Linked DNA regions of Homo sapiens: all the other regions are linked to region 1. The links are contacts of gene promoters, found by promoter capture Hi-C in blood cells and fetal thymus (Javierre and others, 2016). All regions are on one chromosome and are shown on one strand. The core of a region is centred on a gene start or on the middle of the fragment in contact, and the rest is flanking DNA. Distances in the headings are between cores, read along the strand shown.

Evidence for each region. The method cuts DNA at HindIII sites, captures the fragments that hold promoters and counts their contacts. A CHiCAGO score of 5 or more calls a contact.
Region 2: a contact is called between a fragment that was not itself captured here and the fragment with the promoter of MAP2K4 in region 1, in 6 of 17 cell types (activated CD4 T cells, M0 macrophages, total CD4 T cells and 3 more). The highest score is 9.0, in activated CD4 T cells.
Region 3: a contact is called between a fragment that was not itself captured here and the fragment with the promoter of MAP2K4 in region 1, in 1 of 17 cell types (total CD4 T cells). The highest score is 6.1, in total CD4 T cells.
Region 4: a fragment that was not itself captured here is called in contact with the fragment with the promoter of MAP2K4 in region 1 in 1 of 17 cell types (total CD4 T cells); the score reaches 7.6 in total CD4 T cells.
Region 5: a fragment that was not itself captured here is called in contact with the fragment with the promoter of MAP2K4 in region 1 in 1 of 17 cell types (endothelial precursors); the score reaches 6.5 in endothelial precursors.
Region 6: a fragment that was not itself captured here is called in contact with the fragment with the promoter of MAP2K4 in region 1 in 7 of 17 cell types (total CD4 T cells, naive B cells, naive CD8 T cells and 4 more); the score reaches 9.9 in total CD4 T cells.

Annotation. Positions count from the first base shown.
Region 1 is chr17:12,018,828-12,023,400 of GRCh38, reverse strand. It overlaps MAP2K4 (mitogen-activated protein kinase kinase 4), which reads right to left and starts at 2,524. Exons shown (of 11, transcript NM_003010.4): 1 at 2,400-2,524. The coding sequence starts at 2,514. It also overlaps a transcript of ZNF18 not described here. RefSeq lists a silencer at 1,808-2,687 and an enhancer at 2,224-2,724. The HindIII fragment of the contact is 6,257 bases long and covers 869-4,573 here.
Region 2 is chr17:10,683,291-10,687,863 of GRCh38, reverse strand. SCO1 (synthesis of cytochrome C oxidase 1) reads left to right here. Exons shown (of 6, transcript NM_004589.4): 5 at 1,022-1,137. Among named protein-coding and RNA genes, the nearest start is that of SCO1, 12 kb to the left of the region's middle. The HindIII fragment of the contact is 3,317 bases long and covers 707-4,023 here.
Region 3 is chr17:10,719,840-10,724,412 of GRCh38, reverse strand. It overlaps TMEM220 (transmembrane protein 220), which reads left to right. Exons shown (of 6, transcript NM_001004313.3): 5 at 1,084-1,143. Among named protein-coding and RNA genes, the nearest start is that of TMEM220-AS1, 7.7 kb to the left of the region's middle. The HindIII fragment of the contact is 9,230 bases long and covers 1-4,573 here.
Region 4 is chr17:10,738,258-10,742,830 of GRCh38, reverse strand. The region is part of intron 1 of TMEM220-AS1 (TMEM220 antisense RNA 1); the gene reads right to left. Among named protein-coding and RNA genes, the nearest start is that of TMEM220, 11 kb to the right of the region's middle. The HindIII fragment of the contact is 2,083 bases long and covers 1,346-3,428 here.
Region 5 is chr17:10,871,633-10,876,205 of GRCh38, reverse strand. LOC124903926 (a long non-coding RNA gene) reads right to left here and starts at 1,018. Exons shown (of 2, transcript XR_007065619.1): 1 at 1-1,018. The HindIII fragment of the contact is 1,434 bases long and covers 1,415-2,848 here.
Region 6 is chr17:13,028,918-13,033,490 of GRCh38, reverse strand. No RefSeq gene overlaps it. Among named protein-coding and RNA genes, the nearest start is that of ELAC2, 13 kb to the right of the region's middle. The HindIII fragment of the contact is 1,162 bases long and covers 1,578-2,739 here.

The sequences.
Region 1 (4,573 bases), core at 1,275-3,774:
AGATGAAGTACAGTATGGGAGGTGTGACTCCCATACAATTGGATGGGAATCTTTCTTTTTGGGTTCTTATAAGATTTCCTCTTCAAGGGCCTCACAATTAAGATACAGAACAAAACAAACCAAAAAGAAGGATCCTAAATTGCTGCTTAAGTTCAAGCTTTATAACAGACTGTTCTAGACAACATCCTGAGAATATCAAGCACTTCATTCTGACTAATGAAAAAAGTTTCAAGAACAAGATATAACACATTCCTGAATCAATCAAGACTAGACACAATATTGATAAAAAAGAAAATTCGGCAATAATTCATAGAGAGGTCTTAGGTCCTTTTTCCTTCTAAAATGGGTTCTGCTTATTAGAAAGTTTAGTTAACTGGGTATCAACATACAAGGGCTGAGGAGAACGGACAGCATCAGAAAAAGTCCTAACCACTGCCTTAGGAGTTCCTAGAACACTCCAAGCTCTTCCCTGCTTTGGAACCTTCATACACACAGTTCCTCTGCCTAGAACCGTCTTCAGGTAAAAGAGGGTTAGCTTTCCAGACAAGCCTTCTCTGACCATCTTATCAAGCGGACTGCCCTCTATTATCTTCTATCACAAAACCCAGCTTGTTACCTTTATTACTTTTCCAACTAGTAATTTTTCATGTTTAGCTAAATAGCCTTCCCTCCCCCATCTTCACAGGGGGATAACCTCCATGAGGACAGTTAGAGATGTTCAATTCTCTATAAACTCAGCATGAGCGTTTTATGCAGATGCTCAATAAATATTTTTTGAACCAAAAAAACACACTGTATCCAGCTATTTCAAACTGTCAGCCTCCCCACCAATAAAACAAACAAACAAATCACCTTGTTTTTATAAGCTTTGTAAGTCACCCATCTGGAACAAGAAATACAATCCTAAATTGTCATTTTGCCATTTCATTTCGCCCCAACCACCACCACCTAAATTGTAAAGCTGTACAGTCAGGAAGTCAATCTTATACTTCATCAGTATAATGTGCTGTGCAACACAGTGGGCATCCAATAACTAATTCAATTTGAATGAATTATCTGAGGGCCTGCACAGAAAGTGTCCTCTAAGCTCTGACATCATCCTGTCTATATATCTATCACTGGTTTTTATGTATATTAAAATTATTTCATGGGGAGGGTGACAGGGATGTAAAGATAAATAAAATCCTGTCTCTTCTTTCTGAATTATGGCATGCTCTATAAACATGAACTATTCAATAAATGTCTGTTGAACCTAACTAAATGCTAGAAGCCCTTTAAGAGGAATGGAATCAAAAAGTAACCATGGTCACACTGACTACCAAGGGTACCCCAACCCTTATTCTGTTAATAATTCAACACAAGCAGTTTGCTAAAGTTGTCAAGAGAGTTCTGAGATTCCCTGTTTTAAAAATAGCATTACTACTCAAAATTCCCCAGTAAATTTAAGGAAATGGTCCCTAACAGGCTCGGGCCTGGCCTGGTATTTTCACAACACCCCCTGTCAAAAGCCATACACAGCTAATAAGCATTCCCAGTGGGGAAAGTCATTAATTAGCAGAGCTGCCTCAAATGTCCAGACACTACAGTATCACTTTGACCCCTGTCTATTTCCTGTATCTCTCCATTTAAACCAAATTAAGTCTTCTTTTTTTTTTTTTTTTTTTTTCTTCCTGCACGCAATGCTAACACAGAAATCCCTGGCCTGGAACAAAATGCCTCTCCCAGGCCAATGCAGCCTACCTACCTTACAGGTGGCACAGGCCTGGGCAACCCGCCCCCCACCCCCATCCCTTCCAGCGCACAGAAACCCTGCAAAAGTTTGAAAACGCAGGTTCCAAGAGGCCCCCGTAGCCCGAGGTCAGCTCGGTGGTCCGGCTCCAGCTGTGCCCGGCGACAGCCAAGATGGCCCTGAGCGGGGCCCACTGCGGCGGCGGGGCCGAGGGGCGCCGGCCGGGGCCGCTGTCTTCGCCGCCTACCTGAGCGGCGTCAGGGACCAGGGGGCAGGCCCGACGCCCCTCCCGCTCCGCCGCAGCCCCGAGCCGGCGCGTTCCCGGAAACGGGGGCCGGGCGGGCGCCAGGTAAGCGGCGGGGGCGATGGGGACGGCCGCGGGGGCGGTCCCGGACCAGGTGGGCCCTGCGGGCCTGCTGAGAGCCCGGTAGGGCCCAGGGGCCAAGCGCAGGCAGAGGCCGCGGCCGGGGCCTATGCGGGCCGGAGCCCGGATCCAAGCCGGGCCGGAGGCGGCCGGGAGCGGGGCGGGAAGCCGGGGAGGGAGAGAGGGAGAAGCCGGCGGCTGCCGTGGCTTCCTCAGCCGGGTCCGGGGGCGTCCGCTGGGGCAGGCCGCGACGACGCGGGTTGCCGCGCTAGGGGGCTGGGATCTCGGCGCGGCCGCGTTCCTTACCCTGCATGCTGCTGACGGCCGGGTGGCCTGGCGCCGGGGACCCTACGGGGCCGGGGGTGCCGCTGCCGCTGCCGCCCCCGGAGCCGCCGCCGCCGCTCGGGCTCGGAGCCGCCATTGTTGGGAGTGAAGAGCCGAGCGGCGCCGCGGCGGCTGCAATGCAGCAAGCTCGGCCTCTCGCACGGCCGAGGGGCGAGGCTTACCCCCGCCTTGGCCCCGCCTCCGACACGCCCCGGACACGCCTCCTGACACGCCCCCGCCAGAGCCCGACGCGCAGCCCGGGCCAGATGCTGAGCTGCAGAACCGCCCGGCTCTGGGTGCGCGACCTGTGAAGCAGACAGCTGTCTTGGACCAGGGCTGCGGGCCCGCGGGGCCTAAAGTGGTTTGCAGAATTAAAGGTGGGCCTGCATTTGTGCGGAAAGAAGGTACGCAGCTTTCATCATTCCCATGGAGGTCTGTGACTCCCAAAAGTCCACTTTGTTGGAATCTCAGAACCCCAAATCAGAATAGTAAAGCTGAAAAGGATCCCAGGGATCCCTTTCTCCTCCAGTCGCTAACACATCACTTCCAGAAGGGAGTTACCTAGAGCTATGGTTACAGTCTGGAACTCCTCTTAAGCCCAATACCCCAACCCTCTACACTTCTCTGAGGGGAAAGGGGAGTCCCAAGGGGAACTAACCAAAGTGCTGTCCATGGACCCATCCCAAAACTACTGAATTAGAGGTTACATTTTAATAATACCACCAGGTAATTTGTATGCCCATTAAATTTGAGAAGCATATATTTAAGCACTCGACACTTCCCAGCCTCCTGAAATATGCTATCTACATCACCATCTTCCCCTAAATGCACACTGGATTCCCTCTCCCAAATCCTTTACATCTTGTATAAGACGAGCCGTAGTCATTATTGTAAGTTACATAAAATGACAACCCCAAAAAACAATATGAGGTTTCTTCCATTGCTTTGCACAGAGACTTTTATTTTAGGAAGACAGTAGCTAAAAGAAGAAAAAGTTCTCTATGAGGCTACGATTTGTAAGCCAACCATAATGTACTCGAAATGGTAAGACATGGGTTTCTGGCCAGGCAGCCTTGCCTAAAATGGAATAGCCAGTTATCCTACTTCCCAAAGAATCTAAGCCATGGAGCTGGACATTTTCTCCCATTTAGAAGCATTGTGTGATCTACAGCTAGACTTCTTTCCCAAAACTTCTTCCACCCAGATGTTATTTGATGCTGAGAGTTCTTCACAGCATGTTGGAAATGTGTCCTGGGTCAAAATAGCCCTGCCTTCTTGTTCCAAACCCAATTTCATCCATCATCTTGATGGCTCAGATCCTAAAAGTGGCTAGCCGTAAACATCAAGTGGAGAGGCATTAAAGGCAAATTGAAGGTGAGAGCAGGTAGGTGTACTTCAGTGGAGAGCCCGCCAGAATTCTCCTCCATGGGCCTCGTTGGCTGCCCAATATCTTCAAGTCCAGGTCTTATAAACATGGCCAGATTCCCATCTGGAAATCAGTAGCCCACCCAGCTCTTGTTGCTCCTAGGGCATCTTAATTATGAGCCATCATAACTGGCCTTTAATAAGAATTTAATATATATTCTTTTAATAGAAATCCTAGAAGCAGCACTACAGATTAGGCAACTACTAGAAAATTAATTTAAACACACACACACACACACACACACACACACACACACACACACATCCAATATTATAAATAACATATATTAAAGAAGGCTGGGGATGTTGGCTCACACCTGTAATCCCAGCACTTTGGGAGGCCAAGGCGGGTGGATTACGTGAGGTCAGGAGTTAGTGACCAGCCTGGCCAACGTGGTGAAACCCTGTCTCTACTAAAAATACAGAAAAAAACAAAAATTAGCCGGTGTGGTGGCAGGTACCTATAATCCCAGCTACTAGGGAGGCTGAGGCAGGAGAATCGCTTGAACCTGGGAGGCAGAGGTTGCAGTGAGCCGAGATTGTGCCACTGCACTCCAGCCTGGGTGACAGAGCAAGACTCCATCTATTAAAAAAAATATGTATATATATAGTTATATTTATATATATATAGGAAAACCTTCAACCTAGCAAATTCATTAAGGGAAATTGGGAAACTGAATTAAAAGAGAAATACAATAAAAATATAACTAATCTTATTTTTAAGAATACCT
Region 2 (4,573 bases), core at 1,116-3,615, 1.3 Mb after region 1:
ATATCCCCAAATGAGTAGACATTCGAGTTGCTGTACCTAACCAAAACACCAGACTTTATGGTAATTTTCAACAGAACATAGCGATTGATGATGTAGTCATTACTAGTTGCATTTTGGGGAGATTTTTAAAACTTTAATTTGGTATTTAGAAAAAAATGCAGTTTCAGCAATTTAGTTTTAAAAAAAGTTTGAATGTGCAGCTAACTCAGGCTTCATTCACCTTTCTCTTTATTTACTCAGAGTGGAAAAAGAAAGCCTGTCTTTTCAGAATCTGAACAATGTCTCATTTAGAATGATGAGTTCATCCAAGGAACAAAAATTGGCTTCTGTACCTTTAGAAAAAGGAACTGCTGTTAAATGTTGGGCTGTCATTTCAGTAGTTTGATGAATCCAGTTGTTTTAAGTGACCTCTACCGGTTCACTTACATGAATTCCAAAAACTTAATAGCAGATACACGCTGTGAATGATTTGCCCTTATTTCAGAACTTTGTTAAGATTGCGTTTTGGGGATGACTAGTATTAATTAACCAGTTTTTTTAAATCAGAAGTAAAGAGTAGAACTTGATACCAGTGTTGAAATTATTTGCAGGAAAATAAGACACAGGTATTTTGACCTGATATGAACTTAGTTATGAAGCAAATTTTTTTCCCCATATGATGCCATGAAAAGTTATAGTATTTAATTTATGATAATAATTTTAAGCTTTAGTATATCTGAGAACTACATGTGACTACTCCTTAAAAATCAATTTAAAATGTGATACAAGTGATTAGAAAATATTCCCTCCAGGTCTTTACTAGATAGTCATAAAAAGATTTGACTTATATATTACAAAGGAGAATTTTCATTTGTTCTTTGTGAATTTCTTCTCCTTTTCCTTTGAATCGTGAAGAAATGTTTGGAGACTCACAGGAAGAAAGTGGCAGTAGAGCTGCTTTACAACTGATACATTTTTTGAAGTAGAGATGGTTGTTTTACTGGCTTCTCATTTTTCACTGTCTCTCTCATTTTTTATTTAGAATTTTCTCCCAAACTGGTTGGCTTGACTGGCACGAGAGAAGAGGTCGATCAAGTGGCCAGAGCATACAGAGTGTATTACAGCCCTGGCCCCAAGGACGAAGATGAAGACTACATAGTGAGTAAATGTTCCAGTTTTAACCCATGGACCAGCTCCCAGATCCCAAATAGTCATAAGGCTTTCAATGACTGACTAGCTTCTGAGAAGAGAGAATACCTAAGATTATTGCAAAGTCCTTAGGAATTTTTTTTTTTTTTTTTTTGAGATGGAGTCTCATTCTGTCATCCAGGCTGGAGTGCAGTGGCACAATCTTCGCTCACTGCAACCTCCGCCTCCCAGATTCAAGCAATTCTCCTATGTCAGCCTCCCGAGTAGCTGGGATTACAGGTGCGCGCCACCACACCTGGCTACTTTTTTATATTTTTTGGTAGAGACGGGGTTTCACCACGTTGGCCAGGCTGGTCTCGAACTCCTGACCTTACCCGCCTCAGCCTCCCAAAGTACTGGGATTACAGACGTGAGCCACCGCATCCAGCCTCCTTAGGAATTTTGAATATTTGAAAGGATAATAGAAGCATGTTTTTTACTTTTTATTTATTTTCGAGACGGAGTCTCACTCCGTCAGCCAGGCTGGAGTGCAGTGGTGCGATCTTGGCTCACTTCGACCTCCGCCTCCCGGATTCAAGCAATTCTCCTCCCTCAGCCTCTCGCGTAGCTGGGATTACAGGCATGTGCTCCCACGCCTGGCTAGTTTTTGTATTTTTAGTAGAGAAGGAGTTTTGCCATGTTGGCCAGGCGAGGCCAGGGGGTCTCGAATTCCTGACCTCAGGTGGTCTGCCCTGCCCACCTCAGCCTCCCAAAGTGCTGGGATTACAGGCCTGAGCCACTGCGCCCAGCCAGAAGCAGTTTTTTAAAAGATGATTGTTTGATTTATATTCACTGTTCTCATAATTCAATTGCCTGTTTTTCTCTTATAGTGGCATATAGGATTTTAGGGCAGTTTAAAACCAGATACTTGGGTGCCATGTTGGAAATAAAGAGAAGCCATCATTTGGAACAACACTTATTTTAAAAAGATTGTGTTGGTTCTCACTGTGTCCCCAGTAGAGGTATCAGAAATTGCTCTTCTGGAGAACCAGTTTTAGGCCATGGAGAACTGCATTTTTAGGTTGAATGAGAATTCTGAAAAGCAAAAGATGAAAGGTTTATTTGCCCATTGACTATATGCCTTGGACAGTTAGGCGTTAAATATGTGCTTTTTAATGATAAGGAACAGAAATTCTGTTGTACTTGTGTAGCTCTTAAATTAACTATCTTCATATTCATCAGCACTGCCCCAGAAGCCTTAAGGTCATGCCCAAGTTACTGTGTTTCTTTTCTTGTCAGTGGTTTCACAGTGAAGCACCAAAAGGCATTAGCACCACCACTATCCACCAATTTTCCTCTCAATTTGGACATTTTTCTCCTATCATATGAAGAGTCGGCGTTGTATTTTAGCATTATTTCAGTATTTTTCTTAGTTGTCATACTCTGTTTTTTCTATAATATTGTTTGGGCAGAGTAATCCTAAGAGCCTTTCTAGCTGTGAAGCTGTCTTTGTAGAAAGAAAGATGGCCAAGACCCTGAGTCACTGATCCAGCAGCTCCCCATGGCCCATCCCAAGAGTTGAGATGCAGAGGGGATGGGATGTCTCACTGCAGTGCTTTGTCTCAACAGCCAACTATGATTTCTTTGTCCCTTTGAACCTGGAACGTGTGTGCCCCTGGAGCCTACAGCCTGAATTAAAAGCAAGGTTCTGGCCTGTTTGCCTTAATTAAGCCTACACAGTAATCCTGTCTTCCAGATGTGGTGCCTCGTAGAATTAGGGAAACTTGGATTCCTTGGAGTAAAAGATGAGAAAAATGAGCACTTTTCTTTAAGCCTTAATTGTAAGGAAAGTAGAGGGACCCTCCTCTGTTTTCCTCTTGCTGCTTCTCTAGCAGAATGAGAGAAGAGCAGAGAGCCACAGTGGCCAAAAGAGGAAACCATAGGAAAAGGACTTTCCGGACTTCTGTCTTTATAGAGAGTTGTATTAACTGGTTTTGAGTTTATCCGATGATGACAGCAGGAATAGATGAGCTCATCAGTCTGATTTCCAGCATTAAATGAGTTATATTAAATTGTTTAAATGTATACAGTCCTAAACTAGGTAACACTCCATAGTCTTGATGCTTAGAACTCATAACTCAGAGTCAGAAAGTCAAATCAGAAAGCAGTTGTACAAATAAACCCAAACAGCCTGCAAAACTTAAATTGAAAACATTCAGTTACATTGACAAGAGATTTTGCTGAAACCAAAGTGCTGCTCAGGGCAAGAAGGGAGGGGGTTTTGGTCAGACTGCTATCACATACCCAACTCTACTCAACTGCCCCTCTGCATTTTCTATTTAAAATACTTTGAAACCTTTAATCGTGTAGCCTGCCTTGCCTGGTTAGTGTTGATTTGGCAAGAATGTATCATATTCATGTCTGCCTGTAACAGCAGTGGGCAGCTAGGTGCCAGTGAGATCATGGAGCAAACACAAGCCTGGGCACTGAAATTTATACTCACAACACAGATAATCCAGAATATGGATATTAATGTTTTTAATTACAAATGAAAACAAAAATATGTAAGTCTTATGGAAACTTCTTGGACCTTGTAGAATGTATCTTTGGCCCCATTTTGAGAAATACTGGCCTACTGCCATAAGAATTTGACTTTTGATGAGATTCGATGAGGAATTCATGCTGTACATTTGCTAAATCATCCAATAGGGGGAGACATTCTTCAGCTTCTTAGGTTTTTCATTAGTATGACTTCAGTCCCTTGAGGTCACAGATTTTCATCCATAGGATGGTTTGGGAAACTTCTGTTATCATTTAAGGACCTGCAGGAAGTAAGGGGGTACCTTTAAGGTTAATGTTGAGATGTAATGGAATGAAGTTTTCTTAATCCCAAACGACAGCAACAACAGGCAAGCTTCTGGCTTTTGAGTGGACTCTTCAGAGTGATCGAACTGGGTATACCAAATATTTGGAATTCCATAGAAAGCTGGATCTGCACATTATTGTATTATATATATATAATACTATATTATTATATAGATATTAGTTAGAAAATACTTTTGAAAAAAGAATACAAATAGCTTTCAAACCTAAATGTGCAGTTTCATAATAAAAGAAATGTGAATTGTATAATGAGGTAACATTTTTCTCTTGGCTCAGCAGTGGTCAGAAAATCTGAAAATATATTGTCGAAATTGGAAAAGCAGGAAATAAACTGCAGGAGTGAATTTGGAACAGCAGGCACACTCATGCATTGTTGATAGGAATTAAACTCATACACCCTCTTCAGAGGGCAGTTTAACAGTATTTCTCACATTTAAAGTTATATACTTTTTATGCAAGAGATTCTACTTTTTGGACTTTATCCTATAAATATACCCTATGGCATTGTTTTTAAAGAGAAAAAACTGAAAATCCAGTAACCATTTTTTAACTACTGTGTATAATCTAACGTAGAACAATGTCC
Region 3 (4,573 bases), core at 1-2,500, 1.3 Mb after region 1:
ATACAGAGTTTTATCACGTTGGTCAGCCTGGTCTTGAACTCCTGACCTCGTGATCCGCCTTCCTTGGCCTCTCAAAGTGCTGGGATTACAGGCATGAGCCACCGCACCCAGCCAAAAGATCAGTACTTTAAGTCAACCTGTTAGACTTGCCCTGGTATGTCTTGTGTCATTTCCTTGTCATGACCACTTGCTCCTATTTTATCACCTCTTCCTTTGCTTCCTCCCACCCTTGTCTCTGAGGACTTATTAATAGGTCCTTTTGTTTCTTTTCTACTCCTACTGCCATCTGCCAACAACAAAATTCATAGACCTGTAAGTTAAACATCACTGAAAAGGTGTTTCTTTGTTATAACCCCCAATCTTTAGAACACTGGAGAGCCAAACTATAGGTTGGGTCTGTAGATAAGAATGTAGACCAAATGGGTTGAATCACTTCCAGCATGAAGCCCATGGGTTATAGTGAACTCAGCCTGGGGCTTCTAGTGGTATTATGGCTGAAGTGATTGTTTTTTATTCTATGTAAAAGATATGTGCATATAATACATATTTATAGAAGCATATACCCACCCCCAAATTATTAGTCTGATTTGTACTACAAATCATTCCTCTCCCCTAGGAAGTGACCCAATCTCTTGTAGTATATACACAGATCATGTATTGGTTTGGGCTCATTCTGCCTCACACTGAAGCCTCTTTAAAAATGTAAAAGTATTGACTGATCAAATCTGGGATTTTCTTAGTTGCACTGTTTCTTCTAGCGACCTGAAAAAAGTGATGTATCTGTGGATTTTATAAAATATTCATTTCATTTTGGGGGGATCCACTTATAAATCAGGGCATAGTCAGGGATCTCATACCTGCCTTTTAAGATGAAATGTATTTTCATATGAGGCTTTAAATTCTCTGAAAAAAGTAATTTATGAATCATGGTCAGATTTGAAAATATTCCATCGATGCCATAGATCTTGAGGGAGAGTCAGTCACTCAATCAGAATGCGCTATCAGGTGGTCATGGAGAGAATGTGATGATATGCATCTCACTTGTAGCCACTTCCAAAATCTGAAATGTACACCCTTTTATAGGGAGCTGTCTGGTCTGGTGATTATTACAGCATGGATTATCCTGTGCCACAGTTCCTCAAAGTAAGTATTCAACTCATCACATCTTCACTTTGGGAGGCCGAGGCGGGCAGATCACGAGGTCAGGAGATCAAGACCATCCTGGCCAATATGGTCAAACCCTGTCTCTACTAAAATACAGAAAATTAGCCCTGTGTGGTGGCACGCGCCTGTAGTCCCAGCTACTTGGGAGGCTGAGGCAGGGGAATCGCTTGAACCCGGGAGACAGAGGTTGCAGTGAGCCAAGACTGTGCCACTGCACTCCAGCCTGGGCGACAGAGCAACACTCTCTCAAAAAAAAAAAAAAAAGAAATCACATCTTCGAGGCTGACAAAATCAGGTAGTAAGTGAAAATACTGCCATACAAGTAAAAACAGGAATCTTTTGAAAGAAATCTTCCCTTTTCTTAAGGGAAGTTAATAATAGTTGATTTAAAGTATCCTGGTCACTCTTGTCCACAAAAACCGTAGTTTTCTACAAGGCCCAGTATAGTCATGGGCAGTTGTCAGCCTAAAGGGTGTTCTTCAGGGTGAAGGGAAATGATCTCAGGAGGAAACTTAGAGATTCACGAAAGAATGAAGAGCAAAGACAATATAAGTGCGTGTGTACATATCGATGAATGTTAACTAATTAAACATATACAGGATAGAAATACATGACAACAGTGGCATAAAAGCTGGAAAAGAGTAAATGGAGTTTAAGCATTCTAAGGTCCTTTAATTGTGTGAGAAGAGATAAAAGTATCCATTTATATTAAACTTTGATAAGTCAAGGATTAATGTTGTAATCATTAGGGTAACCACTGGTAGCATTAAAATGAGTACAGAAGGCAGGAGAAGGGGAAGGGGAAACAGAAACAATAGGACAAATAGGAAGCATGTGTTAAGATATAGATTTAAACCCAAATATATCAGAAATTACATTAAATGTAAAGGTAAAGATTTCAGTTAAGAGTCAAAGAATCTCAAAGTATGTAAAAAGATTAAAAACCCAACTCTAGGCCAGGCGAGGTGGCTCACACCTGTAATCTCAGCACTTTGGGAGGCCGAGGCAGGCGGATCAACTGAGGTCAGGAGTTCGAGACCAGCCTGGCCAACATGGCGAAACCCCGTCTCTACTAAAAATACAAAAAAATTAGCCAGGCGTGGTGTTGGTCACCTGTAATCCCAGCTACTTGGGAGGCTGAGGCAAGAGAATCGCTTGAACCCGGGAGTCGGAGGTTGCAGTGAGCTGAGGTAGTGCTGTTGCACTCCAGCCTGCGCGATAGAGCAGGACTGCATCTCAAAAAAAAAAAAAAAGAAAGAAAAACCCAGCTCTACACTGCTTAAAAAGACAACCCTTAACTGTACTGATATAGAAAGATTTAAAGTCAAAAGATGAAAAAAAACTACAAACACCAGCCAAATGAAATACAATATTGCAATTTTAACAACAAAGTAGAATGTAAGACAATTATTGGAGAAAAACAACTTTTTGTGAATATTTTTAATTTTTTGTTTTAACTTTTTATTTTGAATTTTCAAACATATATAAAAGCAGAGAGACTAATATCTTGAATCAGATATACTCATCACCCAGTTTCAACAATTATTGGTATGTCCAATCTTGTTTTATCTGAACCTTATCCACGCCACACTGCCAAACTATTTTTTTTTTCTTTTTTTTCTTTTTTTCTTTTTTTTTTTTTTTGAGACAGAGTCTTGCTCTGTTGCTCAGGCTGGTGTGCAGTGGCGCGATCTTGGCTTACTACAACCTCTGCCTCCCGGGTTCAAGCAATTCTCCTGCGTCAGCCTCCCAAGTAGTTGGGATTACAGGCAGGTGCCACCACATCCAATTTTTGTGTTTTTAGTAGAGACGGGGTTTCACCATGTTGGCCAGGATGGTCTCAAACTCCTGACCTCAAGTGATCTGCCTGCCTCAGCCTCCCAAAGTGCTGGGATTACAGGCGTGAGCCACTGCACCCGGCCAGTTTAAACATATTTAATGTGTTTCAGTCCGTGACAGTTATTGTCTTTATTGATGCTCAGACTGTCCCATTTTTGTCCAGTGGCACTTATTCAGGTCTGCTCCTGAATTCTTTCTGACATGACCCTAGTAAACCTTTGATAGCTTCCTTGCTTTCTGGTATGACAAGATGTTCCAGGCGCATGTTATACCCAGGATCATGTTTTAGGCCACAGACCTGGAATCAACAGTGTTTGCAATGTTCGTGAATTCATATATATGTCATAAATGTATATGCATACATAAATATATACACGTACACATATACATTTAAAGTTAAGATGTCTTATGAGTTTATACTAACTACTCAAATTCAGAGGTACCAGTTCTTATTAACCTTATTGAACATTTTATATCTGGATCTCCTTTTAATCATGGCAAAATTTCTAGTCTCAGTGACCTCAACATAATCACCCATTTGATTTATTCTACAATACAAATGCAATCTCCAAATGATAATATGACTACTGAAAACAGGTTCTCTTGTTTGTTTTTGTTATTAGGATATAACCTACTAAGGGATGTACACTCAAATTACTGGGCATAGTGTTCTGTATGCTAATCCCACCAAGTAAATACACAGTTAGATTCATTTATTTCTAGGGCTAATTGTATTGAAAATATATTGATATTATTTTATAATTATGTAAAATATCTACATGGCTCAAAAGTCAAATCTATAAAATAAGATATATTAAAAGAAATTCGGCTTCTCCAGCCCCCTGACCCTATAGCTTCCCTTTCCCTATGGGGGAAAATTTTTTCAGTTTTATAGTTTATCCTTCCATGATTTTTCAGTGGAGCAAATGTGTGACTTAGTTGTATTCCTGCTTATCTAAGGTAACTGGCAGTGTATTGTACACAGTTGTATTCCACTTGCTTTTCCAGTTACTACATCCTGGAGATCATTCTATAGTATAGAAAAACTTTTCTTACTCTGCTGATGGCTCCATAGCTTAATCAACCAGTTCTCTACTATTTAGATAGTATCCAGGCTTTTGCTATTAAAAATAGTGCTGCAGTTAATAGCCATATGCATATATCTAACATATTTTTACCAGTGTGTCTTTGAGATAAATTCCTGGAAGTGAGACTACTGGGTCAAAGTGTAATTGCATAGTTCATATTTCTATATACTCCCGAATTCCCCTCCAGATGGCTCTTCCATTTTGCATCCCAACCAGCCATGGCTAACAGTGTCTGTTTCCCCATAGCCTTGCCAGCAGAGTATGTTATCAAAATCTTGAATTTTTACTAATCGGATCGTTGAGAAAGGGGTAGTTTTAGCTTGCATTTCTCTTATTAAGAGCAAAAGTGAGCACATTTTCATATGGTTCAGAGCCATTTATATTTCTTTTTCTATAAAAATCTTGGTCTATCTCTGAGCAATGTAGGTTTAACCTGATTCTAAGGTTGCTGGTCTTCTCTATTTTTAGAAGCTCTATCTGTG
Region 4 (4,573 bases), core at 1,138-3,637, 1.3 Mb after region 1:
TGTATTAGTCCGTTTTCAAGCTGCTAATAAAGACATACCCAAGACAGAGTAATTTATAAAGAAAAAAAAAAGATGAGGTGCAATTTGAGCAGGAATCTAAAAGCGGTGGGAGATTCAGCCTTCTAGATATCAAGGGAAGGGCAATCCAGTGGAGGGCACGGCGCAGGGAGAGGCCGTGAGGTGGGGGCGCATTGGTGTGTTGGAGGGGTAGCTGGGAAGTGAGCAGTGATGGAGCAGAATGAGCAGAAGGAGGGCATGAGTCCAGAGGGGTCACAGGCCCTGGGAGCATCCTGGGGACATGGATTTTATTCTGAAGCTGTTGGAGAGCTTTGAGATGAAGGAGAGTCATGATTCTATGCATTAAGGACAATTCTAGTTACTGTGAGGAAAACAGGGTTTAGGGAGACAAGAGTGGAAGCTGAGAGACTGGTTAGGCAGCAGATAGCAGATGCCACAGTCCAGGTACGAGGTGTTAGGGTTTGGGTTAGGCTCCTAACCATGAGGGTGGACAGGAGTCGCCCAATTGCAGATATGTTTCCAAAGTGGAAGCAATGAGATTTGTTGTTGAATTAAGCATGGAGGAGAAAAATAGGTCAAAGATGCTTCCAAGATTGTGGCTGGAGCAACCGGGAGAACTGATGGTGCCATTTAGAAAGAGAAGAAGACTTACAAAGAAAGGAGCTGGTTGTGGGCAGGGTATCCAAGATTTGGCTTTGGACCTGTTTGAACAGAAACTGCATAGGAAATGGGGCAGGGTGTAAGGAGAGCCCAAAAGAGGGCTGAGGACTGGGCCCCGGGGTTAGCCCAACTTGTGATTTGGGCGAAGAGGAGGATTCACCAGAGAAGGATTCACCAAAGGAGGCTGAGGAAGAGTAGCCCGGGAGGTTAAGAGAGACCTAAGAGAGAGTGATGTCCCCTGGCAGAGAGCACCAAGTGTTTCAAGGCAGAGGGCCTGATCAACTGTGTCACAAGCCACTGATAAAGGGAGCAACAGGGGACTGAGGCTTGACCTCAGACTTGGCAACACACAGCTGACCTTGATAATGTCAGAATATGTAATTCTGATACCAGCCCTGCAAGCTAAATATTATTGTCTTCATTTTACAGATAAGGCAACAGAGGCCAGAGGAGGTTCAGTGATGCACCCAGGGCCACATAACCAGTGAATGTTGGGGATCAGATTAGAGTGCCCACGTCTCCAGCCTCCTTCTGCCATTGACACCATCACATCGACCATCCGGGCAAGACCCCCGCACCGCCCCCAAGGGCGCAGGCTTGATTTCACTGCCAAGCCAATAATGTCAGCAACAGCACTTATGGTGCTGGACCATAAATGAAACAAGCTTTGAGAACTAACTGCCACCCCAGAGGCCTCAGGGAGGAGGTGGCTGCCCTCAAAGGCTCAGTCTCGTATTCTGTAACCTCTCTACCCTGAAGAAGATCCCACCAGCTGCCTCTTCTTCCAGATCCTGCCAAGAATTAGGCATCTCCCAACCCCACTCCTGGGCCTCTTCTCCACATTCTCCCTGCCAATCATCCCCTTTAATAAAAAACGGTGAATAATTTTCTAGCATGCATCTTTGGATTGTTTACTGATTACCATAAACATTAGCTGCTTTTGAAATGCATTTTTTCAGCTTACTGTATTTTTTTTTGACTGATTTTTTTTTTTTTTGAGATGAAGTCTCACTCTGTCACCCAGGCTGGAGTACAGTGGCTTCATGTCGGCTCACTGCAACCTCTGCCCGCCAGATTCAAGCGATTCTCCTGCTTCAGCCTCCCAAGTAGCTGGGATTACAGGCACCTGCCACCACGCCCAACTAATTTTTGTATGTTTAGTAGAGACGGGATTTCACCACGTTGGCCAGGCTGGTCATGAACTTTTTTTTGACATTTTATAATGAAAATTTTCAAACATACAGTAAAGTTGGAAAGTTTTGAGCAGTGAACACCCACACCCCCCCCCCACTAGACTCTACATGTACCATTTTACTCTCCTCGCTTTACCCCGCGTCTGTCCATGCATTCCTCCCTCTGTCCACCAGCATCCATCTTATTTTCTAAGCAAGCTACAGACGTCAGTACGCGTCACCCCAAACACTTCAGCATGCATGTCACAAACTACAGTTCAATATTGGTTTAAGAGTTTGTTTGGTTTTCCAGATATAATTTGCAAAGAGAGAAATTAACATATCTCATGAGTATGGATGCTGACTTTGGACAAATACATACACAAATAGGTTACTGAAATCTCCATCAAGATACAGAACATTATCATCACCCCAGAAAATTCCCTTATTCTCTTTCCCAGACACTCCTTGTCTCACCCCAAAGGCAACTACTGACCTAATGGCTCTCACATCCATGGTTTTTGCCTCTTCTGGAATTTCACATAGAGTCACACAGCATGTAGTCTTCTGTGTCTGGCTTCTTTGGTTCAGCATGTTTTTGCAATTCATGGATGCGACAGCATGTTAGTAGTCTGTTTCTCTTTTTTGCTAGTGGTATTCCATTATGTAATTATATCACAGTTTGTTTATCCATTCTCTTGTTGATTGCAATAATTCTTTTAATAAAATAAAATTATTCTTTCATGAATTTCTAGTTAGGATGCTTCTGACTTTCTGTTAAGAATTCTCTCATCATCATTTAAAGCAAACTGGGCTTGAGTCGTGGCTGTTTAGAGCCTGATCTTTGAAATCAGAAAGCTCTGGATTTCTACTTCAGTCTCCACTGTTACTAAGTGGGTGACCTTGGGCCAGTTACCTAACCACCCTGCACCTGCACCTTACTTTTACATCTATAAACTGGGAACAAAAATATCTAAAGGATAGGAGGGGCTTATTAGGATTTAAATAATTCATTTATTCCTTGGCTCTTTCCTGTAGCAATAGTTAATAAGAACCCACCGAGTTCAACCCGCTAAGCCTGGGAAGGTAGCAGGAACCAAAAGCAGAGAGAGAGATTGTTCTCATGGGCCTGTTGTTCTGTGGGCTACACAGACACTAAACAACTAATTGTACAGTTAATTATTTAATGGCCATTGTGGTCAGTGCTGCAAGGGAGATGTGACAGCTGCTAAGAGCCTGTGACAGGCTTACGTAAGGAGGCTAAGAGTGGAAAGAGGACAAAGTAGGCAAAGCGGGACCCTTCCCGACAGAAGGAAATGCAGTGTCTGAAAGCTCTCTGGAGGGCAGAAGCACTGCCCTTTGGAAGGACTGAAGAGGCTGTGTAACCACAGGGCCAGGGGTGTGTGTGTGTGTGTGTGTGTGTGCACGTGAAGTGGTGAAGAAGGAAGGTGAGCTGGAACAAGTGGAGGCTGACCAGGCTGGGCAGTGCTCTGAGTACGCAGGGCTTTGCAGACCAGGTTCAAATGTTGGTTTTTAACCCCAGAGCCATAGGCAGTGAGGGGTGCTGGAAGGTAAGCTTCACACAAGAACATCAGGTGGGAGTTGTCTGTTTCGTTCACTGCTATATCCTTAGTGCTTAGATGAGTGCCTTGGATCCATCTGTGGGAGGAAGCGAGGGAGGGAGGGAGGAAGGAAGGGAGGGAGGAAGGAAGGAAGGAAGGAAGGAAGGAAGGAAGGAAGGAAGGGGAAGGGAAGGGAAGGGAGGTGAGGGGAGGAGAGAGGAAGGGAGGAAGGGAGTGGGGAGGAAGAGAGGAGAGGAGAGGAAGGGAGGGAGGGAGGAAAGGAAGGGAGGGAAGGAGGAGAAAAAGGGAGGGACAGAGGAACGGAGAGAGGAAGGGAGGGAAGGAGGAGAGGAAGGGAAGGAGGAGAGGAAGGGAAGGAGGAGAGGAAGGGAAGGAGAGTGGAAGAGAGAAGAGGAAGGGAGGGAAGGAGGGAAGGAGGGAGGGAGGAGAGGAAGGGAGGGAGGAGAGGAAGGGAGGGAGGGAGGAGAGGAAGGGAGGAAGGGAGGGAGGGAGGAGAGGGAGGGAGGGAGGGAGGGTCTTAAGCAGAAATTGGAGATTTGTGTCTCATACAGTCACTGGCTGCAGTGTGGAGACTGGGTGGGACGGAGCACAGAGTAAGTATTCTTCTGCTCAGGCTGCCAGAGCACTACAGACTAGGATGATGCTTAAACATTGATTTCCTCATAGCTCTGCTGGCTGTAAGTCCAAGATCAAGGTTCCATCAGGGTTGGTGGCCGGTGAGGCCTCTCTTCCCGGCTTATAAATGCCCTCTTCTCCCTGTGTCCTCACATGGCCTTTCCTCTGTGTGGGCCAGGAGAGAGCCAGCTCTGGAGCCTCTTCCTCTTCCTGTAAGGATACCAGCCCTGTGGGATTAGGGCCCGACCCTTACTCCCTCATTGGCCTTCATTATCTCCTTAAAGGCCCTATCTCCAAATACTCAACTTATGAACTAGGGAGTGCAGGGGGAGCACAAGTCAGTCCATAACAGGGTGGGAAGCCAGTTAGGAGGTTAATGTGTTCAAAGAGGGGAAATGCTGATCGCTGGGACCAGGTGTCAGCAATAAAAATGGGGGACTACTGAGCAGAAAAGTTCACCAGAATCAGTGGTGGACTGAGAGAGGAGGAAAGATGAGGTGTCAGGAATAACTTCCAGGTTTCTAC
Region 5 (4,573 bases), core at 882-3,381, 1.1 Mb after region 1:
AGTTGCCCACTAGCCCACGGCGAGGTGATGATGGTGTCACACCACCACCTAGTGGCCACTCCTGTGAAATCGTATTCTCCTTAACCTCTGGGATTTATAAGCTCGCCCAGGTGAGTCTTCTGCTTGGGAAAGGACTACCAGTGACTGGGAGGACCTAGAGTACCTCTCTCTCAATATACTAAGGGTGATATAAAGTGTTTTGCCCAAATCCCAGCATGTAACACTGAGAGCTTAGTAACCGGAATTAACATTACCATTGTTATTGCCATGATACTGTAGAAATTCCTGAGTCTCTTTGAAATTAATTGGGCTGCCGGAAAATGAGATTTTTCAAAGATAATTAAGAATCCATTTCTACTTTAATTTCATTCAATAAACAGGTACTAAATGTTTAATATATGCCAGCACTGTGCTGTGTAACTGGGACAGCGTGAAGAAGATATAAAAATGGCTAAGATGCAGTCCCTGCTCTAAGACATTTCCAGTCCAGAAGGAGAAGTAGGCACGTAAACAGCCAGCTCTCAAGTGCTAAATAGAGACACAGCCAGAGTGCTGGCTATGACAGCGCGGAAGCAGCAGTGATTCATTTAGACGCCTGTGGTTTCCCTTAATTCTCAAAATAAAATCCTGGTCCTTACTATGGTCTTGCAGGGTCTGGCGGGGCTGCCTCTCTACGCTGCTTCTGGGCCTCTCTCCAGCACCTTGGAGAGCTCCTGGCCTCAAAGAAGGAAAGGAAATTTCATGAGATTGCAGAATAGGCAAAAGGCCGCGAGGGTGGGGGGTTGGGGGTTGCAGATGCTGTTTCTGGAGTCAAGGTTCTAGCTCTATGACCTTGGACAAGACACTTAATCTCTCTGTGTCTTATTAGCCTCATGGAGGAAAGGACGATGTTAATAACAGCACCTACCTCCTGGGGTCATTGTGAGGATTCAAAGACTTTATATTACAATGTAAGGCACTTAGTCTCTGAGGCATGGTAAATCTTCCTCTTTTTTTTTTAAGACATGGTCTTTTTCTGTCTTCTGTCACCCAGGCTGAAATGCATGGCACGATCACGGCTCACTGCAGCCTCAACTTCTTGGCCTCAAGCAAGTAGCCTCCCAAGTAGCTGGGTCTACAGGTGCTCACCACCACGCCCTGCTAAATTTTTTGTATTTTGTAGAGACAGGTTTTCCCCATGTTGCTCCGTCTAGTCTCTAACTCCTGAGCTCAAGCAATCAGACTGCCTTGGCTTCCCAAAGTGCTGGGATTACAGGCGTGAGCCACTGCACCTGGCCTAGATCCTCCATATTTTTATTACCAGCTGTACTCTGCAAAAACCTCCTGGGCTCTCCATGAGATGCAGATCCAACTTCGTAGACATTCAAGCTTTTGTGTTGTTGTTGTTAAAGCTTGGTCTATCCTGTTTAAAGCTTTGCTTTCATATGTGATTCAGCACTTCCCACGCATCCACTGAGTGCATTTGGAATTGGAGGTGCAGAAGAAGGTGCCTGGCAAGCTCCCTTTTTTCTTTTCTTCTTGATTTGTCCCCTTCATCATCCTGTGTGACTCTAAACCCTTTAGAGGCCTACCACTGGCCTGTGGCCCAGCAGCAAGGACACGAGGAGGGGAGATTCTGCTCCCATTGCTCACGTGACAATGTTCTGACTCATTTCTGTGCTGGTGACTTCTATGAGGGAGGATCCTGACGGAGGTGGTGTATTTGGCTAATATGGAAAGCTGTTCAGCCTTGCACTGCTCACCCTTGACTCTTTTCTTTTCTTTTCTTTTCTTTTTTTTTTTTTTTTTTTTGAGACAGAGTCTCACTCTGTTGCCCAGGCTGGAGTGCAGTGGCGCAATCTCAGCTCACTGCAACCTCCCAGGTTCAAGTGATTCTCCTGCCTCAGTCTCCTGAATACCTGAGATTACAGGTGTGAACCACCACACCCGGCTAATTTTTGTATTTTTAGCAGAGACGGGGTTTCACCATGTTGGTCAGGCTGGTCTCGAACTCTTGACCTCATGATCTACCCACCTCGGCCTCCCAAAGTGCTGGGATTACAGGCATGAGCCGCCGCGCCCAGCCCTTTGACTCCTTTCTAAAGAAGATCTCTGGAGGCGAACCATGTGGCCCTTTGTCCACCAGTTTATGTTCACCCTCTTCTCCAGGCCACCATCCTGTTGTCCAGTCTGCTAGACTGGGGGATCCACGTGGGCAGGACCTGTCCATCACCACTGTAGAGTCAGTTCTGGGTACAGTGCCTGGCGTATGTGTGTCTTCAACAAGTGCTCGTGGTGTTTGCAATATTTTCCCTTCCCAGCATCAGGAAATAGATGGGATGAATATTTATGATCACTATCTGATGTCCTTAGACAAAGGGAGGAGAGGGACCAAAAGGTCCACTCTGCATCTTTGGGGGCCTTGTGGGGGTGTAGGTATACAATAACTGCAAGTCCCTATTAGGGCCTCAGCACTCAGAGAGGCTGCTGGCCTGCTCTTATGATAAATATGCCTCTAAAAATATATTGGGAAAAATTCATCTCTTTGTATCCCAGTGAACCAAAGGGAAGTGAAACAGGTCATTAAAATGAGACTTTTTGTCATCTCAGAGTTTCAGCTGTGACCCCAAAGCTAAAAACAATGAGTGCCAAGTAGACACCCACTGTAATGCTGAACCACATGTGTAGGCTTGGCGAAGGGCATTGCCAAAAGCTACTGCTGCTTTCAATAGATGTGCACCTGTCTCCAGGCTATGGAGGAAAAAGCCGAGACTCACAGGAGGTTAAAGAGATGCAAAGGATTAGATCTTTGAAGAGAGATATTGGTGTTTTATATGGGTTGCTCTCCACACATGTGTGAGAGCAAGCTTCGGGTCCAACACCTCAGGTCAGAGAAAGGACAGGACTTAAGGAGAACTATCGAGGCTCCCTGAAGCCTGGGTGGCAGCCAGGCTCATTCCTAAAGAGTCTACAGGTAATAGGCAACAGCTGAATACAGAGGCTGCCAAAGATGCAAGCTGCACTTACACTGAGCGTGGGGGAAGGAGCCTGTGATGGGTGGTCCAGGAAAGAACCAGCCATGGCCCTTCTAGAAAAAGACCCTGTCTGACATATACACGATGGAATACTATGCGGCCATAAAAAGGAATGAGACCATGTCCTTTGCAGGGACATGGATGAGGCTGGAAGCCATCATTCTCAGCAAACTAACACAGGAACAGAAAACCAAACACCACATGTTCTCACTCATAAGTGGGGGTTGAACAATGAGAACACATGGACACAGGGAGGGGAACAACACACACCAGGGCCTGTTGGGGGGTGAGGGGCAAGGGGAGGGAACGTAGAGGATGGGTCAATAGAGGCAGCAAACCACCGTGGCACACGTATACCTATGTAACAAGCCTGCATGTCCTGCACATATGTCCTGGAACTTAAAGTAAAATAAAAAATAAAAATAAAGAAAGAAAAAGACCCTGTCTGAATATGCCCAACAGTAAAAATGTTTAAATAGTTTTATTGAGACATAATAGATTTACAAAGAACTGCACGTACTTAAAGGATGCAATTTGATACATGCACAAAACTGTCTCCATAATCAAGATAAGGAACTCATCCATCACACCCAGAAACGTCCTTCTACTCCTTTAGCATCCATCCCTCCCACCCTTCCCTTTGCCTCATTAAAAAGCAATCACCGCTCTGCTCTCTGTCACTGTAAATCAGTGCGTATTTTTGAGCATTTTATAGAAATGGAATCAGACAGTATGCATGCTTTTTTTTGTCCGCCTTCTTTCACTCAGCGTGATTATTTTTAGATGCAACCATGTTGTCGTATCAATAGTTCACTCCTTTTTATCGCTGAGTGGTACTCCAGTGTGGGAATGTACAACGATTTGCTTCTTCATTCATCTGCTGATGGGCATTTGGGACGTAGGTGGCGGGAATTTGACTAATTATCTTCTGCTCTCTTATTTTTAGAAATATTCTGTTGTCACGTGTGTTGCTTTTATAATCAGGTTACCACTTAAGTGTTTTTTTTTTTTTTAATGAAGAGGAAGAAAAGAAGCTTGCCCATGTGGGCTTCCTGCCAGCAGTGAGGCAATCTCAGCAGGAGCTGTGGGCGTGCCATTGGGTGCACAGCTGTCAAGAGAAAAAAGTCAAAGGCAGCCAACGTGTGGTGGCTTCCTCAGCTTTAGGGGCTGCAGTCAGAGGGCTCATGGAGGAATTCACAAAGTGCCACACAGAGAGAGAGAGACATATGCTTACTGCCACATACAGGTTACAGGCAGGTGCAGGAAGCCTCTTCTGTCCTTCCTCTCCTCTCTCCTCCCCACCTACGACCCCAACACAGGAGGGTCCTAAAATGTCTGCTGGGGTGTTAGGGTAGGTAAGATGGAAATGGGTGGAGAAGCAATCACAACTATTTCCCCCACTATGACTTCCAAACCTGAAATCGGCCAAGTGGTGGAAGGAGAGTCTGGAGTTTGTATATTAGATTGGACTAGATTTTCTCTTACCTAGAAGTAGCCAAGTAACATTATTATATCAAATTTGTCGTTATTGTCTAAGAGTGACCACAAAAGCGACTGCA
Region 6 (4,573 bases), core at 909-3,408, 1.0 Mb before region 1:
CGATTAACACCTTGAACTTTCTGGAGTCCAGATCCAAAGACCTTGAGTGCTCCTTGCAACTTTAAGAATATATGATATATTCTTAATGTATATATGATTATATTGCCCTTAGATACTGCCTATCCTTGTTACGGCGCCATCACACTCCTCAGCCTCCCATTCTCCAGAAGCCAGCTCACTGTCTTTTGGCTTCTAAGCAGCAAATCATTAAGTCAAAGGTCCAAAAGGAAGAGTTGTTGCCCAGAATCTTTAAAATATTTTTGACAAAGCAAAGGATGGGATTAGGAGTTAGGCAGCATCCAGAAATAAAACACAGTGCATTTTTTGTTTGTTTGTTTTTGCTTTGTGCTTGAAAGCAAGATTCCCAACTATGAGTTCCAGCATCAGGGCAGAATGCGTGAGACCTGTTCTCTAAGTGCTGTTACTCGCCACCAGGAGTCCGCACTGTGTGGTCTAATCACCTGGGAACTTGCTAGAAAGGCAATTTGTGGGGTCCCACTCCACTCCTACTGAATCGGAAACGTTGGGGGTGGGACCCAGCAATCTGCACTTTTTTTTTTAGATGGACTCTGTCGCCCAGACTGGAGTGCAGTGGCATGATCTCAGCTCACTGCAACCTCTGCCTCCTGGGTTCAAGTGATTCTCCTGTCTCAGCCTCCCGAGTAGCTGGGATTACAGGTACCCGCTACCATGCCCAGCTAATTTTTGTATTTTTAGTAGAGACAAAGTTTCACCATGTTGGCCAGGCTGGTCTGGAACTCCTGATGTCATGATCCACCCACCTTGACCTCCCAAAGTGCTGGGATTACAGGCATGAGCCACCGAGCCCAGCCACAATCTGCATTTTAACAAGCATTGGGGTACTCATTCAGTTTGAGAAACCCATTTTTCAGCCTTGCCTTTCCCCTTCCTGAGTTATAGGCCCTTTGAGAATCTGACTCAGGCTAGCAGCTCTCTCCAAGAAAAATGCACAAGCAAACACTTTTGCACACAATTTCTAGGGGGCTCAAAGACCACCATGAATTCAGCCCATTCAGAAAAAAGCCCTAAGGCTCTGGAGACCCTGGCTGAGAAGGCCCACTCTCACGATGGAATCATATATCCTTAATGTTGCAAGGAGCACTCAGAGTCTCCGGATCTGGACTCCAGACAGGTCAAGCTGGTAATCATATTTCATTCAATCGGTTGGAATCAGCCTGCAAGTTCACACCAGCAAAGCAGGTGCTCAAGCCCGTCACTGTCATCACCCCCCACGTCCCAAACAGCCTTCTCAACATCATCCCCATCCGCCCCAACTTCGATTTCACTGATTTCCGGAAAAGAAAGGCGAAAACCGCCATCAGGGTGGCACCCTAAACGTTTCATAACAATTTTTTTTTTTTTTTTTTTTTTTTTTTTTTTTTGGAAATCAAAAGCCAAATTTAAGAAGGGAGCAAGGAAGGAAGTTGGTTCCGGCTGCTGTTACAGAAAAACAGAGTGAAGGAACCCACATCCACCACTAGGTGGCGGACATGGACGCAAAGGCGCCATTAGGCCAGAGATCCCCAAGGGCCTAAATTTGCCTTCATGCCTAAGCTTTTTGGCCCATAAAGTGTTAGTAAATATTTTCAGGAAATTTCACATAAAATCTAGTTCTCAGCCTCCATTGCAAAACAGTCCCGAGATCTGACACTGTCTGAGCCTGCGTTTTACAGAGCCACTGTTGCCTGGCTCAAGACGGAGCACCACCCCCTCAGATGGAGCACAGAGACTTAGCTTGCTCTGATCCTCTGGATCACCCATCTTACCTTCCTGGCCACTGCAGGCCGTAGACTTTGCCACTCCAATAGCCCAGAGCCACTTAAGACATCTGCAGGTGAGGGATATGGGTGGTTTCTAGACAAAGATTGACTCAGAGCAGCAAAGTGAAAAGCAAGAGCTGCCTGCATGTATTTTTCTGCTCTAACATTTCCCCCTTGACTCTTGACTCTTTGCCCCTTCCCTCCTTGGTTTTATGGTATGCATCCTTGTTTCATCACTCACCCCCAAGCCTGGGTGAGGTACCTCTTCTGCGTGCCCCACACCACGCGATTGCTTCCCTAGCATAGGGCTTACCACGTGCCCAGTTTTTTTACTGTCTCTCCCATTGGTTTGTAAATTCTGTGAGGGCAGAAACCAAGATGATCTTGTCCACTATTGAAATGTTTAGCCCAGTACCTGGCTCTTCAACGGAATTCAATAAGAAAGAAAAGAAAAAAGGAAAAAAGAAAGGAAGGAGGAAGGAGTGGAGGGGAGAAGGGAGGGAAGGAGTGGGGTAGGAACAGAAGGAAGGAAGGAGGGAAGGGAAGGGAGGAAGACATTGCCAATCGAGCATAGCATTCTTGCTCTTGAGCCTGGACCCTGAGGCCTTCTCAAAACAATACTCCAAGCAGCTACCTCAGTCTGAGTTGGCACAGGAGATGCAAAATACTTTCTGCCTGATAGCCTGGGAAGAAGCTGTTTGGGAAGGGATTCCAGTAAGGAAATGACTGCCCTGCTTAAACCTTGGACCGGAGTGTGTCAGGGGAGATGGGCAAATCCGTGTTGTTCTGGCAGGAACCAAACCCAACAGAAAAGAGAAAGGAAGGAGAGGCAGCTATTCAGCAAACAGAACATAGGCTGTCACGAAAAGACTTGGTTAACTTCAGGCTATAGGCCACAGGGGTGCAGTTGACTGAGGGATTTTACGGATGTATCTAAGTAACGTATCTTAGAGAAGCTTTCTGAGAACAAAGCCCCATGCTGGTAGGAACCCTTCCCGCTCTTGGGCATCTCAACTGCAAACCAGATGGAGAGGTGGATTGGGGCACTCTTCACACATCTTAGCCCATGGAGGAAAAACATGAGTGTACACTGCCCCCTAGTGTTCATTGTTGGTAACACGATGAGGCTCGGGAAATCATAAAAACCATAAATGTCTAATGAACAGATGCAAGAGAAGATAAAAACTACATTGATTTTATTTTAGCTTTTTTCAGTTAACTGAAACACACACTCACACGCTTATGTATAAAACATTGAGAAAAAGCCATAGCCAAGGAGGAGAGTCAAATCTTTAAAGATCCCAAACCAGATACTGCTGGCCAAGAACGAATGGATGAATTGGGAATTCAATTCAGGCCCCTTGGATACCATCCAGATGTTCAAGCAGCTGGTCACACCAAGTCCCTTCCAGTCAATTACTTTTCTTGATGTTTCTAATCAACAGCATTATATATGTGATGCTATAAACTTTTATATTTAATATTAGCTCATAACTCAGGATCCCAAACCAGATGTTTTGGGTGAGAAAGAAATTGATGACTTATCAGGAGATTGAACCCAGGCCACTGGCTGCTCTCCAGGCATTCTACCAGCTGAGCTGCAAAGCAGGGTGGTTGCTACCAGCTCCCTTTAGTTATGAGGAGAGAGAGAGAGGAGTGGGTAGAATATGAACATAAAGCCGTATTCCAGAAAAGCTTCCATGAATTCTTTTTCTCTTATAAAACAGGAGCCTGTAGCATTGTCTTGAGTCAGTAATGGTCAGGTATATTCAAAGCTTTGAGCTCGTCTCCCTTCCTTTATGACATTATAGAGGCGCAGGGAAGCAGTGACGGAAGGGAAAAGAAAAGTAAAATACATGGCCAGGAAAAGGAGATGCGCTGACATGATCGATTGTCACCAATGAGGTGGGGTAATGTCTTTAAAAATATTAACCAACTTTTTCTTCCAGGAAAAGTCCCCCTGTGCCCTTCCCTCACCAAAGAGCTAGGCCCACTCTCTGGAGGAATTAGGCAGAAGAGAGAGCTGAGAACAAAGAAGTCTTCCAGGATTTGGTTTCAAAAGCCTAAGCCCCTGGGGACATGGAGAGGACAAAAGCTTCAAGCTAAGGAAGGAGAAGAGAAACTCCTGCTCGTTATCTCTCTTGAAAAACATTTCCCAATCTGTGGAGCAGGGATCGGAAAGATTGGTGGGTCCCAGAGACATGGGCCTTGTGTCCAGCCAACTTCCTGAGTTAGAGGCCTGAGGAGGTAGCTGACCCCAGGCAGGGAAAGCTGTGCATGGTGTCTGCCAGATGGAGCCAGAGTAATTCCAAACAAGATAAACCATGAAAAGCACCTAGCAGGATGCCTGGCACACAGTAAGTGCTCAGTAAATTGCAGCTGTTACTGCTTTTATGAGGGTACTCAGTTTTCCAGTGCCTTAAAAATCACCAAAGCCAAGTTCACCATGGCAGGCGGAGGTACGCTTCCTCAGCAACGGACAGCCAGCATCCACCACTCTTGTTCTTTCCACCCCTACCCCTCCTTCCGACATCAGACGAGACCACTTTTAACTCAGTTTCTTAGAAGTAACTAAGGTCAACCAATGTGTTATGGTTCATTTTGTGTGTCAACTTGGCTAGCTCATGGTAGCCAGGTATTTGGTCAAACATTACTCTAGATGTTTCTGTGAGAGATCTGTTAGGTGACATTAACATTTAAATCAGTGGACTTTGGGTAAAGCAGAGGACTCACTGTAGTGTGGATGGGCCCCATCCAATCAGCTGAAGGCCTTCAAGAAAAGACTGACTTTC